Regions from separate parts of the Homo sapiens genome. Here regions 1, 2, 4 and 5 are each linked to region 3. Evidence: promoter capture Hi-C in 16 types of primary human blood cells and fetal thymus (Javierre and others, 2016). All regions are on one chromosome and are shown on one strand. The core of a region is centred on a gene start or on the middle of the fragment in contact, and the rest is flanking DNA. Distances in the headings are between cores, read along the strand shown. Region 1 overlaps PAG1 (phosphoprotein membrane anchor with glycosphingolipid microdomains 1). Region 2 overlaps ZNF704 (zinc finger protein 704). Region 3 holds the start of HEY1 (hes related family bHLH transcription factor with YRPW motif 1). Region 4 overlaps LNMICC (lncRNA associated with lymph node metastasis in cervical cancer). Region 5 holds the start of PKIA (cAMP-dependent protein kinase inhibitor alpha).

Region 1 (2,700 bases), core at 66-2,565, 1.3 Mb before region 3:
CAAATTGGAGTGTCTTCTCCTAATAGGGAGCATGGGAGGAACAACCCACTATATTTTTCAAGGCAGCTCCAGGAATTAGACCCATAAATCATGTTTTAAAATAGCATGCATTGTGCAGAGAGCATGCAGAGGACCGCTTTTTGAACACATCCCCTTTGTTTTAGAAAAAGTGGAAATTGTTCATGCCAGACAATTGTTGAGTCTAAAAGTTAAGTGTACTGATGGGCCTAATTATCTTAATAAACAAAGAGCATGATTTATAGGTAGCTGCAGTGCCCTACTTTGAAGGATAGAAATCTTTAACCTTTCTTTCTCAGCTGTTCCCGAGAGATTCCTTTTAAGCAGAGCTATGGATTATCATCATTGATGTTTAATACCTGAGTTGGTTAAACTTGTAAAAGGAATAGTACTTTGAAGTACCATGCAGTACTGCTGTGTGACTGTTACACAGCGAATATTATAAATAAGAGGAATATTTGGAGTATTGGGTATAGATGTCATTAGTTTAACAAAATAGGTCATATTAAGACTTTCCTGCTAAATATATATACACATACATAAATGTTTAATTTGGACTTGAAATTATTGTTTAAACCAAAGCTCAGGGGTATGTTTTAATGTAAGATTTATTTACATAATCTTTGAAGAGAGAAGTGCATTTATTTATGGTATTTCAGCATGCAGAACAAGATGAACTAGTTATAGGCACCTTATTTAAAGTGTAAAGGGTTTTTTTTTAGGAATACTAAGAAAATACACAAAATGTTATTTCAGAAGTTGAAAAGTTAGTCACATCAACACATTGCGGTTTGTGAGAGCATCCAGTGCTTATCTCTAGAAGAGATTACATCCAAGCATGGAATCTCAAACAGATTGACCCATTAAGCCCTATTGCAGCCTGGTTAGGAGGACAGGCTATGGAGCCAGGCTGCCAGCTCTGGTACCATCTGTTTGAATCTAGGCAAGTAACCCAAAGTCTGTGCCTCAGTGTCTTCATCTGTACAATGGGGATGACAGTAGTAGTACCTACCCCACTGAACAGTAGTGAGAATTAAATGAGTTCATAGACATAGAGCTGTTGGGCCAGTATCTGGCATATTAAGCTTGTTCTGGGAAAAATTTTCATTGTTATGAAAGGAAATGCATCTTTGGACTCTATGGACATTGAATTGCTGCTATGGACATTGAATTGCTGCTGATGAATATTAACAGAAGCAGTTCATGTGTATAATAGGAGAGAAGGTATAAACATTTATTGTGCACTGTCTAGCGATACAGACACCAACTGGTATTTAACACTGTCTTGCTCAATTCCCCACCACAGTCCTTTGAGGTAAGTGGCTTCATCTCTACTTTAGAGATGAGAAAATGGGAGCTCAGTGAGATCAAATAGTAGAAATTGGAGCTGGCATTTAACCCACGTCTGTCTGTGTTGAAACTGTGTTCTTTTTGACCCTGCTGCCTCAACTTGCAAATGAAGTAGTTGCATTATTATCCTCAATTTATACATGAAGAAATCTAAGCTTAAGGATTAAAGTATGCAAAGTGCTTAACAGCACCCACAACAGAAATGATCATAATTATTGTTAAATAACTTGCCCATGCTTCCATACCTCCTAATGTGTGGTAGAGGTGCCAGGTCTTTCAATTTGAAGTGGATTCTGTTGCTTTATTATTTTTCTATTCATGCATTCAGAGAGTCAAAAAAGAAAAATTGGTGTGATGTTAGAGTTTACACTGGAGGGTGGTGGTCTCCATTTGGTTTCCTGCCTGCACGTGTAGCTGCAGCAATCTACACAGTCAAGGAAACCACCACGGCAGCAGTAATCAATCCACAAACAGCGTCATCCCTGGATATGCATTCAGTCCCAGCTGGAGAACTCCCTTGGGCAGAGAGAGGCCTTGCACTTTGCCTCATATTAAACTGCATGTTCAGAAAAAGAAATAATTTATACTTACCATTAAATAAGCATGCTTCCTTCAAGCCTTAGTACCCCATGTCATGGGAAGCAGATTCCGGGGTGCTGTGTGAGCAGTACTTCCTTTAAGGTTTCCATAGCTTGTTAGACTTCTCAGCTGGGTTCCAGAGGTGGGGAATGATTGAGAGGTCATGGCATTTTTGTGGCTGTGTTAGGTTATCACCCAAATACTAGATAGTGTTCTCGCCTTTTGTAAGTCTTATTTCTAGAGATTAAAATCTAATTGCCGTATAGGGCACATAGACCACAGACTGCTCACAGTCTGATTTAATTTAAATCACAGACTGATTTAATGTTTAATGAAATCTCTTAGCTAATGTATGCTAACACTGAATGGTGCTTCAATATAAATGCTCAAAGTTGGCTTTAAAAAAAAAATCAAAACTCTTCGAGAGTTCTACTCTTCCTGTAGGCTGCCTCCATGTGCCTGGGGACACAATACCATAGTTGCAAAGTGCCCAAAAGAGCCCCTGCCATTGACTGAGTCATCTCACATCTCTGAATTATCTTCTGTTTCAACTTGAACCCTCCTTTTCAGAGAACAGATATTCCCTTTTGCTTACTTAATAGTTAATTTCAAGTGTTCCCCTGCTCTGGGTTGGTTATTCTATAGTAAAAGTCTCCCCTGATCACTTTTGTGACTTGAATGAGGTTCATGATTTATTATTAACTAACTCCTCAGAATATACATATAGTTGTTTCATTTCTCATCTATGTTATC
Region 2 (2,700 bases), core at 41-2,540, 1.1 Mb before region 3:
GTGAGAAATTTTCAGCAAGTAGTTATTTGGGATGATAGTTTTTGACAGCTGCTTGTTGAAATCCAAACCGTGACCACATTCATTACCATGGTCTGTTGAAAAGCCTGCATTGTATGGCTACAAGATATAGCTGGGTTTGAAATGAAGTCACATGGTGTCAGTGACATTGAATATCAAGAGTAGTGACTCCTTAGCATTTTTGTCCAGAAATACTGAAAGTGTGTCCTGTGGTTTGAATAGTGATTGCACAATTTGTGATAGAAACAATAATAATTTATGCTCTGTGATGAAAACAAGCTTAATATAGGGAAAAAATCAAATCCGTAAAAACAGAATAATGAGTGTGATAATTCACTTGATCAGTAAAGGTTTTTCACATCTTCAAGTAAATTTCCTTTAAATTCTTTCAAAATGGGCTTCATTTTATAACACTCTCATTTGCCCACAACTTCAGAAATTTACACAGAATGTTGGAGTCATTTGAGGTTTATCTTTTAAATTACTCTTTTAAAGACACTGTATCTGAAGAGATTTTCTAATGGAATATCACTAGATAATTTTATTATAATGCATATACGAATGTTAACCTCTTACATATATTCATGCATTCATTTATTCAACAAATATTTATTGAACACCTATTATGTGCTAGCAGCTATTCTAGAACATAGCAGTGGACACCTTCCTGATGCTCACATCTAGTGAGAGGCATCATAGCAACAATCAAATACATAGATGCAGATGTACATGCATAAGCAAGAATAACACTTCAGATTGTGGTGTGTCCTGTGAAGAAAATCATGATATCTTAGAGTTTCAAAGGAAGAAGAGAAAGCTACTGTGGGTGAGATCTCTCTGAGGAGGGAACATTTGACCTGAGATATGAGACATTTCGCATGGGAAGAGCTTTCCAGGCAGAGGGAGTAGCAGTTGCAAGTCTTGAGGTGGAAAGGAGAAAAGGGTGAGTGTGGCTGGAACTTGGTAGGTATGAGATATGTCAAGGAGGCTGGGAGGTGCCTGCAAAGAGAGCCTGGTGGGCCCTTTAAAAGGATAGTGAAATCTTTGAAAAGTTTTAAGCAATAAAGTCTTACAAGGTAATTTGTAGTTTTCAAAAGATCCATGCTGTGTGGAGGACAGTAGTAGAGGCAGGGAGGCCAGTTGGGTGGCTGTCACTACACAGACCAAGGGAGGGAGAGGGCAGCTTGGAGTTAGAGATTGGCAGGAGATGGCAAATTCAGAATCTATTGTGAGGATCAACCTACAAGAACTTGTGGATGGGTTGGTTGATGGGTAATGAAGGAAAGGGAGGAATCCAGGATGAGACCATGATGTAAATGTTGGTTGAAGGTACCATTTACTAAGATTAGGAAAACCGAGAGAACAAAAATCAGGTTTTCTGTTTTGTGCATGTGAATTCTGAGATGACTATTGGACAACCAGGTGGAGGGTGTGGTTAGGCAGATGGTGGTGAGATGGGGAGTGGATAGGAGAGGTCAGGGATAGTGGGAGGAATTTGAGCGACATCAGTATGTTAATGTCATGTAAAGCCTGGGGGCTTTAAGGGAGTGCAGGGGGCCAAGAGAGGAGAGCCTGGGGCCTGATTCTGGGGCACAGCACTATTTAAGTTTGGGTGTAAATGGAGAAGCCAGCAAACACTATTGAGAAGCAGCAGCCAAATAAGTAGAAGGAAAACTAGAAAATCTAAAGTCCAATAAGCCAAGAGAAGAAATAGTTCCAAAAAGTGGGTGGGGAGTAATGAACTGTATTGAATGCTGCTGAGATATAGAATAAGAAAGAGAGAGAGAGATGTTCATTTGGATTAGATAAGATGGAACTTACTAGTGTCCTTGACAAGAGAAGTTTGAGTGATGTGCTTGGAGTAGGCTGAGCAGCCGATGAGAGGTGTGGACAGAGGGACACAGGAAAAACTCTTTTGACAAGTTTTTTGGAAAGGAGAACAAAGAGGAGGAGGAATAGCTGGAAGGCCTATGGCCTAGGTTTTTTTAAAAGATGGGATACAGTAGACCCTAGTGTTATGACTAAAGCATCATGGGAATTATGTGGAAGAGGGGTTATTAGTTTTCTATTGTAGTGTAGTGTAACAAATTACTACAAATTTTTTTTTGCTTTAAAACAGTTCTTAGAGTTTCTGTGGGTTAGGAGTCTAGGCTCAGCTTAACTAGGTTTTCTGTGAAGAGTCTCACAAGGCTGCAATCAGGGTGCTACATGGGTTGAGTTCTCATCTGAAGGCTTGACCAGGGAATAATTAACTTGTAAGCTTACATAGATTGTTGGCAGAATTCATTCCCTTGCATCTGTAGGACTGAGGGTCCTAGCTTCTTGCTGGTTATCAGTTGGAAGTTGTTCTCAGCTTGTAGAGCTCTTCTCCCCCTCCCCTTCCCTACTTACTGCTGTTTTTTGTCACATGGGACTCCTTAGCTTGGCCTCTTACTTCATCAAGCCAGCAAGGAGAATCTTAGAGCCTGCCTGCCAGCAAGATGGAGCCTTGCATAATGCAATGTAGTCAGGAGGAATAGGCCAGAAACTTGGCCATATTCTGTTGGTTAGAAGTAAGTCACAGGTTCCACCCACAACCTAAGGAGAGGGAATTTTACAAGGTTATAAACACCAGGTGGTGAGGATCATTGAGGGGTCATTTAGGGAGGAACCAAAGATGTAGAGAAAAGAAAAAACTACAGG
Region 3 (2,700 bases), core at 152-2,651:
TGTTTCTGGAATCAGAAATCAGTTTCGAGATTTACAACTGTATTTTTTAAAAAATCTGTCTTCTTAGTGGACTCGGGGGGGACTTCACGTGGCACCCAGTACACGCCACGCCAAGCCACCGAAGCCAGAGGTGTGTGTCTGGGGCCAGAGACGTGCATTCCCTCAGCAAGGCCGGCCTCAGACGCAAACGCCAGCACCGCCACCCTGTCGCCCGCTGAGAGGATCTGGCCGCCGGGGGGAGGGGGCGGGGGGGGGGGCAGCGGGGGAACAACAAAAAAATCCCAGCATAATGATTATTCCCAGGGACCGTTGGGTTTTTTTTTCCCCAAGGCGGCCGAAAAAACAAGTGCTCCCCTTCCCCGGAAATGAGATGCACAGGGGTATTCATTCCATTCCGCGGCTGGGAAGCCCCTGCGGAAACGAGTCTGGCTGCATGTGCGGCCTCGGTCCCAGAAATCAAAAAGAGCGTCCCCTGAGCCCACAGCTTGCTCCTCCATGTGACCGGCCCCTGGGCTGGTGGCCACTGTGGACGCGCCCGGCGCCCCCTCTCCCGGCTCCCTGCGGGTTCCGCGGAGCCGCCGGCGCGCAGCCCGGCCAGGTGCACCCGGCACGGCCCCACTAACAGCGCGCGCCTCCAGCCGCCGGGCACTGGCGGCCACGCGGGCGAGATTTACGGTGGCGCTAGGCGGCGGCTTCCGAGGCCGGCCGGCGCCCAGGCTCCGATTACAGGTTCACACTGGGGGCCCGGCCGGCGGCCGCCCAGCCCCCGCCGGCGCGCCCTCGCGCGGCCCGGCTCCCCGCCTGCCCATTCTTCTCCATTCATGCGGACGCCCAGCGCCGCCGCCGCCGCCGCCAGCGCGGCCGCCGCCGTCGCCGTCGCCGGCCGCCCGGATTGGCTGGCGGCCGCGGCGCCGGCACTTTCCCACGGCCCGCGGCGCGTGCGGCTCACCGGAGGCGCTGCAGGCTCGGCCCTGGCGCGCGGCCAGGCCAATCGGGGCGCGCGGGGCGGGGAGGAGCCGCGGCCGCCGGCGGGCTTGTGTCCCGGCCCGGCCTCCCGCGCCTCCCCGCCGCCCGCGCCTCCTCCTTCCCCTGAGTGCAGGCTGGACAGAGCCCCCGCGGAGCCGACGCACCGCCGCCGGGCAGGGGCGGGCGCGGAGGGCGGGGGCGCGGTCCGCTAGAGCCCTCGGCCTCGCTCCCGCCCCTCCCCGGAGCGGCTGCCAATCAGCGGCGCGAGAAACCGGATTGGCCGGGGGGCGGCTGTTGCCCTGGAGTTGCCGCCCCGCCTCTCCGCCCCCTCGCCCGCCTTCCCCACTCCCCCGCCCTCCCCAGGGCCCTGGGAAGGGGCTCAGCGTGGGAAAGGATGGTTGAGTTTTAACCAGAGGCAAAGCGTGAGCGGGATCAGTGTGTGCGGAACGCAAGCAGCCGAGAGCGGAGAGGCGCCGCTGTAGTTAACTCCTCCCTGCCCGCCGCGCCGACCCTCCCCAGGAACCCCCAGGGAGCCAGCATGAAGCGAGCTCACCCCGAGTACAGCTCCTCGGACAGCGAGCTGGACGAGACCATCGAGGTGGAGAAGGAGAGTGCGGACGAGAATGGGTGAGCTGGCGGCGGCGGAGCGGAGCCGAGCCAGAGCGGGAGGCGAGCGCAGGCCTGCCGCGGTGACAGCGGGCTAGGACCCTTGGCGCGCCGGTGCCCTGCGCTGACCTCCGCGCGTCGCAGGCTGGCGGCAGCCTGCGGCCAGGGAACCCCTAGGTGCCTTCCAGCCCAAGTGGCAAAAAAAGTCTGAGTGCGGGGAGGGTGTGGGGGCGACCTCTCAGATCACCTCTCCTCGTTTAACGGCGATTTCAGTTTTTGTTTGTTCTTTTTCTCTTTTCAGAAACTTGAGTTCGGCTCTAGGTTCCATGTCCCCAACTACATCTTCCCAGATTTTGGCCAGAAAAAGACGGAGAGGAGTGAGTCTCTTTACACTCTCCTTTTATTTTTGTTATTGATTAACGGAAATAACCACCTTTTTTTTTGTCTTTGAAATTTACAGTCGTAATGGTAATGCCTTCCTTTGTTTTGCTTGCCTTCTGCAGATAATTGAGAAGCGCCGACGAGACCGGATCAATAACAGTTTGTCTGAGCTGAGAAGGCTGGTACCCAGTGCTTTTGAGAAGCAGGTAATGGAGCAAGTAGGTAAAGCTCTCAGCATAGCTATCTGCACCTTCTGAATCTTCCCCTCATTAATCTCATCCGCCTTGGAAAATAGCTGTGTTGCTTGTGCCTAGATGAATTCGTACACAGATACCAGCGTATTTTGTGAAGACAACTGATTTTGCTTTAGTCCATGCTTTACGATTTACAAAGCATGTATCTTTGTATATATGTTTGCATATTTTAAATTGTTCCCCAAAGGAACTTGTGCCAAATCAATCTTTTGCCATTCTCATCTTTAGGGATCTGCTAAGCTAGAAAAAGCCGAGATCCTGCAGATGACCGTGGATCACCTGAAAATGCTGCATACGGCAGGAGGGAAAGGTACATCTCCTAGACCTAGTGGGGGCTCTGAATGGTTGGCAAAGAGTGAGCAGCGGCTGAAGGCCAGGATTGGTGCAGTAGCTGCCTGATTTTTCTTTGGGGGTGGGGAGAGAACGGTGTGTGGTGTGTGCAGTTCCCTGTCAGTACATTTTCGAATGCACATAGAATCTTCTCCAGTGAATT
Region 4 (2,700 bases), core at 99-2,598, 1.5 Mb before region 3:
TTACTTAAAACTTAAGTTTAAACACAATCTCTGATGTGATGAGTGGAAATAATTCTTTTGTGTTAAAACATACAGACAAAACAAAGCTATATGGCCAGAATAATAACCGTTATTGTATCTTGTGGAACAAAAAAGGGCATGGTGATTGCTCTGTTCCTCAGGGAAACACATTGAATGTCTTGTTTTCAGACACCACATCTGATGCATATACAGATGTATGATTGGAGTAGATTATTTCTAATGCCCCTTAAGCTCTACTACTCAGATTCTTTCCTTCTCCAGAGTAATGGTAATGGATTTTAAGCTGTGAAAAAGCAGTTAAGTACTGCCTTCACCCGCTAAGTAAAGGCCTATTCTAGGCTACTTACCTTGCACCCATTATGAGGTGTAAAACCAAAAATGTTGTGAAATCAAATTTCACTGAAGTCTCATATAACTTTATGGAGATGGTTGAGTATTTCTTCTTGGAAAGAAGGAGGAGAATCATCACTTGATTGTGATTAATTACAACATAGGAAACAAGAAACAATAGTTTTATCCTAACCTGTCCTTACGAACATTAGTAACTGTGCTGTTCATTATTTTTAGTAACAGCACATAGGTAATACAGGTGTTATATCATGTTTTCCTTCACACTGGAAGATAATAACACATTATTCTTATGGATGAAAATGACTGAAGAATCAAGAATTACTAGCAACTCTTCTTCCAGTAGCTTAGAAAACTGCCTTTTTCAAGACAGATGCAATTTTACTTAATATCTCTGAAGCTTAGTTTTATCATCTATGAATTTAAGGAGATGAGAATTAATACTAAATGATTTTTTAGGTCCCCTTCAGTTTATGAAGTACTCCTGCAGTAGAAGTTCATGGCCTTGAAAAAGCGTACTCAAAATTACTCTATTTCCACCTAGTGGTGAAACCGTAATATTTCTCTGAGGCTTTACTTGATAAACGTGAGTAGTTTTTCAGCTTCTCATTCTGTAATCACACACAGCTTTGGAGCATATTGTGTCATTTTTATTTAAAGACAACTTCCCAGTTAAAGTTTATGTACATAGATGTGCCTTCCACAAAGTTGATTATTGTATATTAGTTCTTCCTAAGGACAGTTAAGTGTTGGTGGCTTAGCAACAGGCAGTTGGTAGAGAAATGGAGAGTACTACATTAAATTATTGCAGAGAATATTCAAAGTAATCCATTTTCAGGGAACTGAGTCTTCTCTAAGTACATGGCCAGATGATCAAAAAAGGAAAAAAATTAATCACTAAGGTTGGAGAATATGTTTATTTAAACCTAGTGTCTCCCTTAAATTTTATAACTAGATTTTTGACCCTCACTCATCTGGCTTTCCTTGCTATAGACATGCTTTGCATACCCAGCTTCTAGCCACATCTTCCCTAAGAAAATTTCACCTGGAATCAGTTCCAAAAGAAAATCTTAAGAGATAGAGTATGGATCTGCATGTTGTCAGCTACCTAAAGCAGCAAAAATTCCTAGATGAGAATAAAATCAGGGAACCTTGCAGTTTAAGGCACACCTTAAATATTAAATTTTTAATCCTTCAATGCATCCAGCCAAAACAAGAAATTGCAAATAGCTACCATCCATCAATGCAAGGTTTTTTTGGTTTGTTTTTCATAATAAGATTGGTTTTAATTAAAGCACTTATAAAGATGGAGTTATATTTTGAACTTTGTCCTTTTACTTAAAGCAGTTAGAGTCTTACACATCATAACTGCCACGGCTAACCATTAAAATTTTCCAGCTCCTTAAATGATCCATCATAAACTTGTGCTTGCTGAGTTAACTGGACTAGAGGATAGCTGGAGGGAAAATGAGGCATTGCAAAAGTTACAGTAATAAAAAGTGAATGGCTTCAAAATAAGGCAGAGGACATAATGGCTCATTTTATAATAAAAGCTTTCAGTATAAAATTCATACATTTCCCTTACTTATATAGATCTTCCTACTTTCCAGACATGTGTATTATTGTATATTACATTTGTCAATAGCTCATGGCAACAGATACACATAGTTTGGGATAACCCTTTTATACCTCATATGAGCAGTGTTCAAAGGTTTAAAAGCACAACTCCAAAGGGCACAGCTTGAAATGGAGCGGGAGGATGCTAGCAAAGCCACCCCAATAAACACAAAATCTTAGTAAAAGCACTATGTTTACCAGGCAATGCAACTTCAAAACAAATTCCTTAGCAACCCCAACCTCTTCAAGCCCGCTTCTAATCACATTATTACTCCTAAGCCTCCTTATATACAAAATCTTAGGCTGGCCAAGCCCAAACACACAGACACATTAATAATGAGCATCTCTGTCCTTAAAAAATTTCAAACATAAAAAACCTCCAAATGATATGTTCCCACTGGAAGAGGCCAAATTCTTTTCTTGTAGATTACCCTTTTCTATTTTTCATTCCTACCTCCCATGCAGTATTCCTAGATTCTCACACCATTTGATCATTTCTCTATTTTGATATTTATCTATAAGAATTAATGATTTTTTTCAAGTCAAATCTACAAAACCGTGGATTTGCTTGCCTCTAAGCTATTTATCTCAGTGAGTCAGGCCCACTGCTTCCATTTTTCTGGATTAGCTTTGAAGAAGAATCATCAGCACTTAATAACCTACCTAAATCCGACTGAAGATGCTTTCTTGATCCTATCTCTGGTCCTCCTACTT
Region 5 (2,700 bases), core at 130-2,629, 1.3 Mb after region 3:
TTGGGCTCAGTAGCAAGGGGTCTGTGGGGAAAATCCTAGGACGAGGGATAGGAACCTGCAAATGGCAAGACAAACTAGAGGATACTCAACCAGAGGCTTAGATTGGGCAGCTCCATTGGCTTTCTGACTGCCTACGAGGAAAACCTCACTGGAAACTCTTTTGAGGTTCTTGAGGAATCCTAGAGGCAAACGGACTCCTCTGCCTTTTGGAAAGGATTTGTCCCAAATCTTAACAGCTAGCTGTCTCAAAATCCAACTGGACTAAAATTGCTTCAAGAAAAACTGGATGGACTGGCATTCACATTTTTACTTCTACCTATGCCTATGCATAGGGAACATCCCTCACACTCCAGTAGATTCTATCTGTCCTCTCTAGCTTTCAAGTAGCCACAGTGACTACAGCGAAGGGAGTTAATGGGATAACATGTTGGTACAGGGCCACAAGCAGGATATTTCATTCCATGCATTTGGGGGAAGGACACAGGTAACAGTATACAGGGAGAATACCGAATAAGAAATCTGTGTGAGGCAATGCCCTTTTTGGGACCTTGACAAAATCAGTCATGGAACCCAGGTGGTGGATAAGAGCTGACGAGAGTTGGTCTGTGAATGGGCACAGCATCTCCGAAAAAGATCAATGAAATGATTGACAGAGAAAATGGCAATTGAAGGAAGAAGCGATGTCAAGTGCTGCTCAACCCAAGCTGAACTCCAGGAGATAAGAGAAGTTTCCCCTCCAGATAGAGGCTCTTTCTAAAGGTTCAGTCTTGAAGCAGGTGTTTTGCCATTGAGAGGGGCACAGACCCATTCTGATAACTGGAAAGGGAGAGGACCAAGGACTACAGGAAGAGGGACGATTTCTGATTACCTCAGGCTGCTGCCAGGGACCTACTGCTCCAAATCCTCAAAATACTCAAGCGAAGGTAAAAGGCACAGAAAGCAAAAGAGTAACTCAAATTATTTTAAATTTTGAGTCCTCTTCACTGTCTACGCGAATCTGGCACTGAAATGGTAGATCACGTTCAAAAGAGTATAGAGGCAAGAACGCCTTCTTTGTTTGCCCAGTAACACTGCTCCTCCAACCTCTGCACTTGGCCGCCCAACATTTCCATCCTAGTTGTTGCTCCTTTTCTCATTGCAGAATGCAGCGGGGTTCTCCCCTTCTTCCCTCCGTGCTGCAAACCCCATTATTAACCAAGCGGAAAGCTCCACGCAGTGCGGCCAGGGCGCACCGGTGCCGGGCTGCTTACCTTCCCCGGACCTAGTCAGCGCAGGTCCCCGCGCACGCCGCCACGGGCCGCAGTCCCGCCGCGCCCGCCGAGTGCTCGGTCAGCTCGCGCCGGCCCGCGCCCCACCTGCCAGCAGCAGCCTCCGCTCCCGCCGCGGAGCTCCGGCTGCATGAAGTCATCCCCGCCCCGGGACGGATCACCACATTCCGCGCCAGCCACGGGGGGAGCGGGGCCGCTCCCGACCCCAGGGAAGGCAGCCTGGAAACGGCGCTCGACGATCGCTGCCCCGCGAGGTTGTGGATTGATTTTCTATTAATGCTTTTACAGCTGCAGCATCGCTGGATTATGGATTGAGAGAGAAGAGCCAGGGGGGCTTTCTCTGCATAGCGTCCTTCCTCCGAGCGCTCCCCCGTCACCCCGGCTGCATGGACTGTTCCATTTGCCCCTGTGGGTTTCCCACCCTCTTCATCTTCCTTATCAGCATTGTTCATTTGGCTGAATTTGAGAGCAGGAATTGTCTTTTAAGATAAACATTCAAGCACTACAAAAACATTTTAAATTGGTAATGAAGCTTTCTAAGCCCTTCATAGCTCTCTCCATCACCCCCGCCCCCGCCAACAGACACACACGCAAACACACACACACACGCACACACGCGCGCACACACACGTATGCACACAGCCAAACCACTCACAATTTTGAAAGCTAGAACCTTTCGCCCTCTCACCTACGTAATAGAACGGGAATCTCCTAAAAGACTGGAGAAGTGGGGCCAACCAGAGAAAGCGCTCAAAGAAACAGTGGGGTGGCCCCATGATTTTGTTGTGTTTATGGTGCACTTGTGCACAGATGTTCCCTCTAACATCTCTTCCTCCTACTTCCTTTGCTCTGGACCCCCTCCCCTCCCTGCCACATAATTGGGCAAACTGTTGTGGTGACAGCTGTAACATTTGGGAATCAAAAAGCAGAGTCTACATTAGCAAATGACTATCTCTCTTTCCCTAAGGATTTATGAAAATTTGCTTTGGGAATGAAATAAGCATGTATTCATATAAGCCCTTTCCTTCTCTTTTTAAATTAACACTAGCTGTTAACAAGACTGTTCTCTCTCCCCCACCCTCCCGTTTTGCTTCTTTCCCAAATCTCTTCAGGTTTGAGGGTTGAATGTTTAAGGAAAAATGGGACTAAATTTGCTCTCTTTGTAGCTGAGCCAGGGTTTCCGCCTAGCTGTTGAGTCATTTTCCAGTCGGGAGGTTCCTTGACACTAGGGTTCTGTGGAATGGAGTTCCCTCTTTTAACTTGCCTTGCTGTTTGAATTGACCGTCACTTGATACAGGCCAGCTTTACACTATGGATTTGTCCAGCAACCTAAACAGTGCAATTGCACAAGGCCAGGGAAGCACCTTTGCTAAATGAGATGTTTCCATCCATCTATCAGTCCCAAAGTTAGGTGATAATGTAGCCAACAGCT

The links. The method cuts DNA at HindIII sites, captures the fragments that hold promoters and counts their contacts. A CHiCAGO score of 5 or more calls a contact.
Region 1: a fragment that was not itself captured here is called in contact with the fragment with the promoter of HEY1 in region 3 in 1 of 17 cell types (fetal thymus); the score reaches 7.3 in fetal thymus.
Region 2: a contact is called between a fragment that was not itself captured here and the fragment with the promoter of HEY1 in region 3, in 1 of 17 cell types (fetal thymus). The highest score is 5.7, in fetal thymus.
Region 4: a fragment that was not itself captured here is called in contact with the fragment with the promoter of HEY1 in region 3 in 3 of 17 cell types (activated CD4 T cells, fetal thymus and naive CD8 T cells); the score reaches 6.9 in activated CD4 T cells.
Region 5: the fragment with the promoter of PKIA here is called in contact with the fragment with the promoter of HEY1 in region 3 in 1 of 17 cell types (fetal thymus); the score reaches 5.6 in fetal thymus.

What each region holds. Positions count from the first base shown.
Region 1 is chr8:81,108,092-81,110,791 of GRCh38, reverse strand. The region is part of intron 1 of PAG1 (phosphoprotein membrane anchor with glycosphingolipid microdomains 1); the gene reads left to right. Among named protein-coding and RNA genes, the nearest start is that of PAG1, 2.6 kb to the left of the region's middle. The HindIII fragment of the contact is 420 bases long and covers 1,106-1,525 here.
Region 2 is chr8:80,869,607-80,872,306 of GRCh38, reverse strand. The region is part of intron 1 of ZNF704 (zinc finger protein 704); the gene reads left to right. Among named protein-coding and RNA genes, the nearest start is that of ZNF704, 3.8 kb to the left of the region's middle. The HindIII fragment of the contact is 1,981 bases long and covers 300-2,280 here.
Region 3 is chr8:79,766,468-79,769,167 of GRCh38, reverse strand. It overlaps HEY1 (hes related family bHLH transcription factor with YRPW motif 1), which reads left to right and starts at 1,401. Exons shown (of 5, transcript NM_012258.4): 1 at 1,401-1,593; 2 at 1,874-1,949; 3 at 2,076-2,159; 4 at 2,436-2,517. The coding sequence starts at 1,505. LINC01607 (long intergenic non-protein coding RNA 1607) reads right to left here and starts at 1,026. Exons shown (of 4, transcript NR_125410.1): 1 at 950-1,026. RefSeq lists silencers at 229-398, 499-858, 899-1,378 and an enhancer at 1,829-1,878. The HindIII fragment of the contact is 6,216 bases long and covers 1-2,700 here.
Region 4 is chr8:81,276,108-81,278,807 of GRCh38, reverse strand. LNMICC (lncRNA associated with lymph node metastasis in cervical cancer) reads left to right here. Exons shown (of 2, transcript NR_186603.1): 2 at 1-2,700. Among named protein-coding and RNA genes, the nearest start is that of FABP5, 3.1 kb to the left of the region's middle. The HindIII fragment of the contact is 1,153 bases long and covers 772-1,924 here.
Region 5 is chr8:78,515,019-78,517,718 of GRCh38, reverse strand. It overlaps PKIA (cAMP-dependent protein kinase inhibitor alpha), which reads right to left and starts at 1,379. Exons shown (of 4, transcript NM_006823.4): 1 at 1,251-1,379. All of the region lies in intron 2 of LOC105375911 (a long non-coding RNA gene), which reads left to right. RefSeq lists an enhancer at 705-814 and a silencer at 1,135-1,434. The HindIII fragment of the contact is 11,771 bases long and covers 1-1,802 here.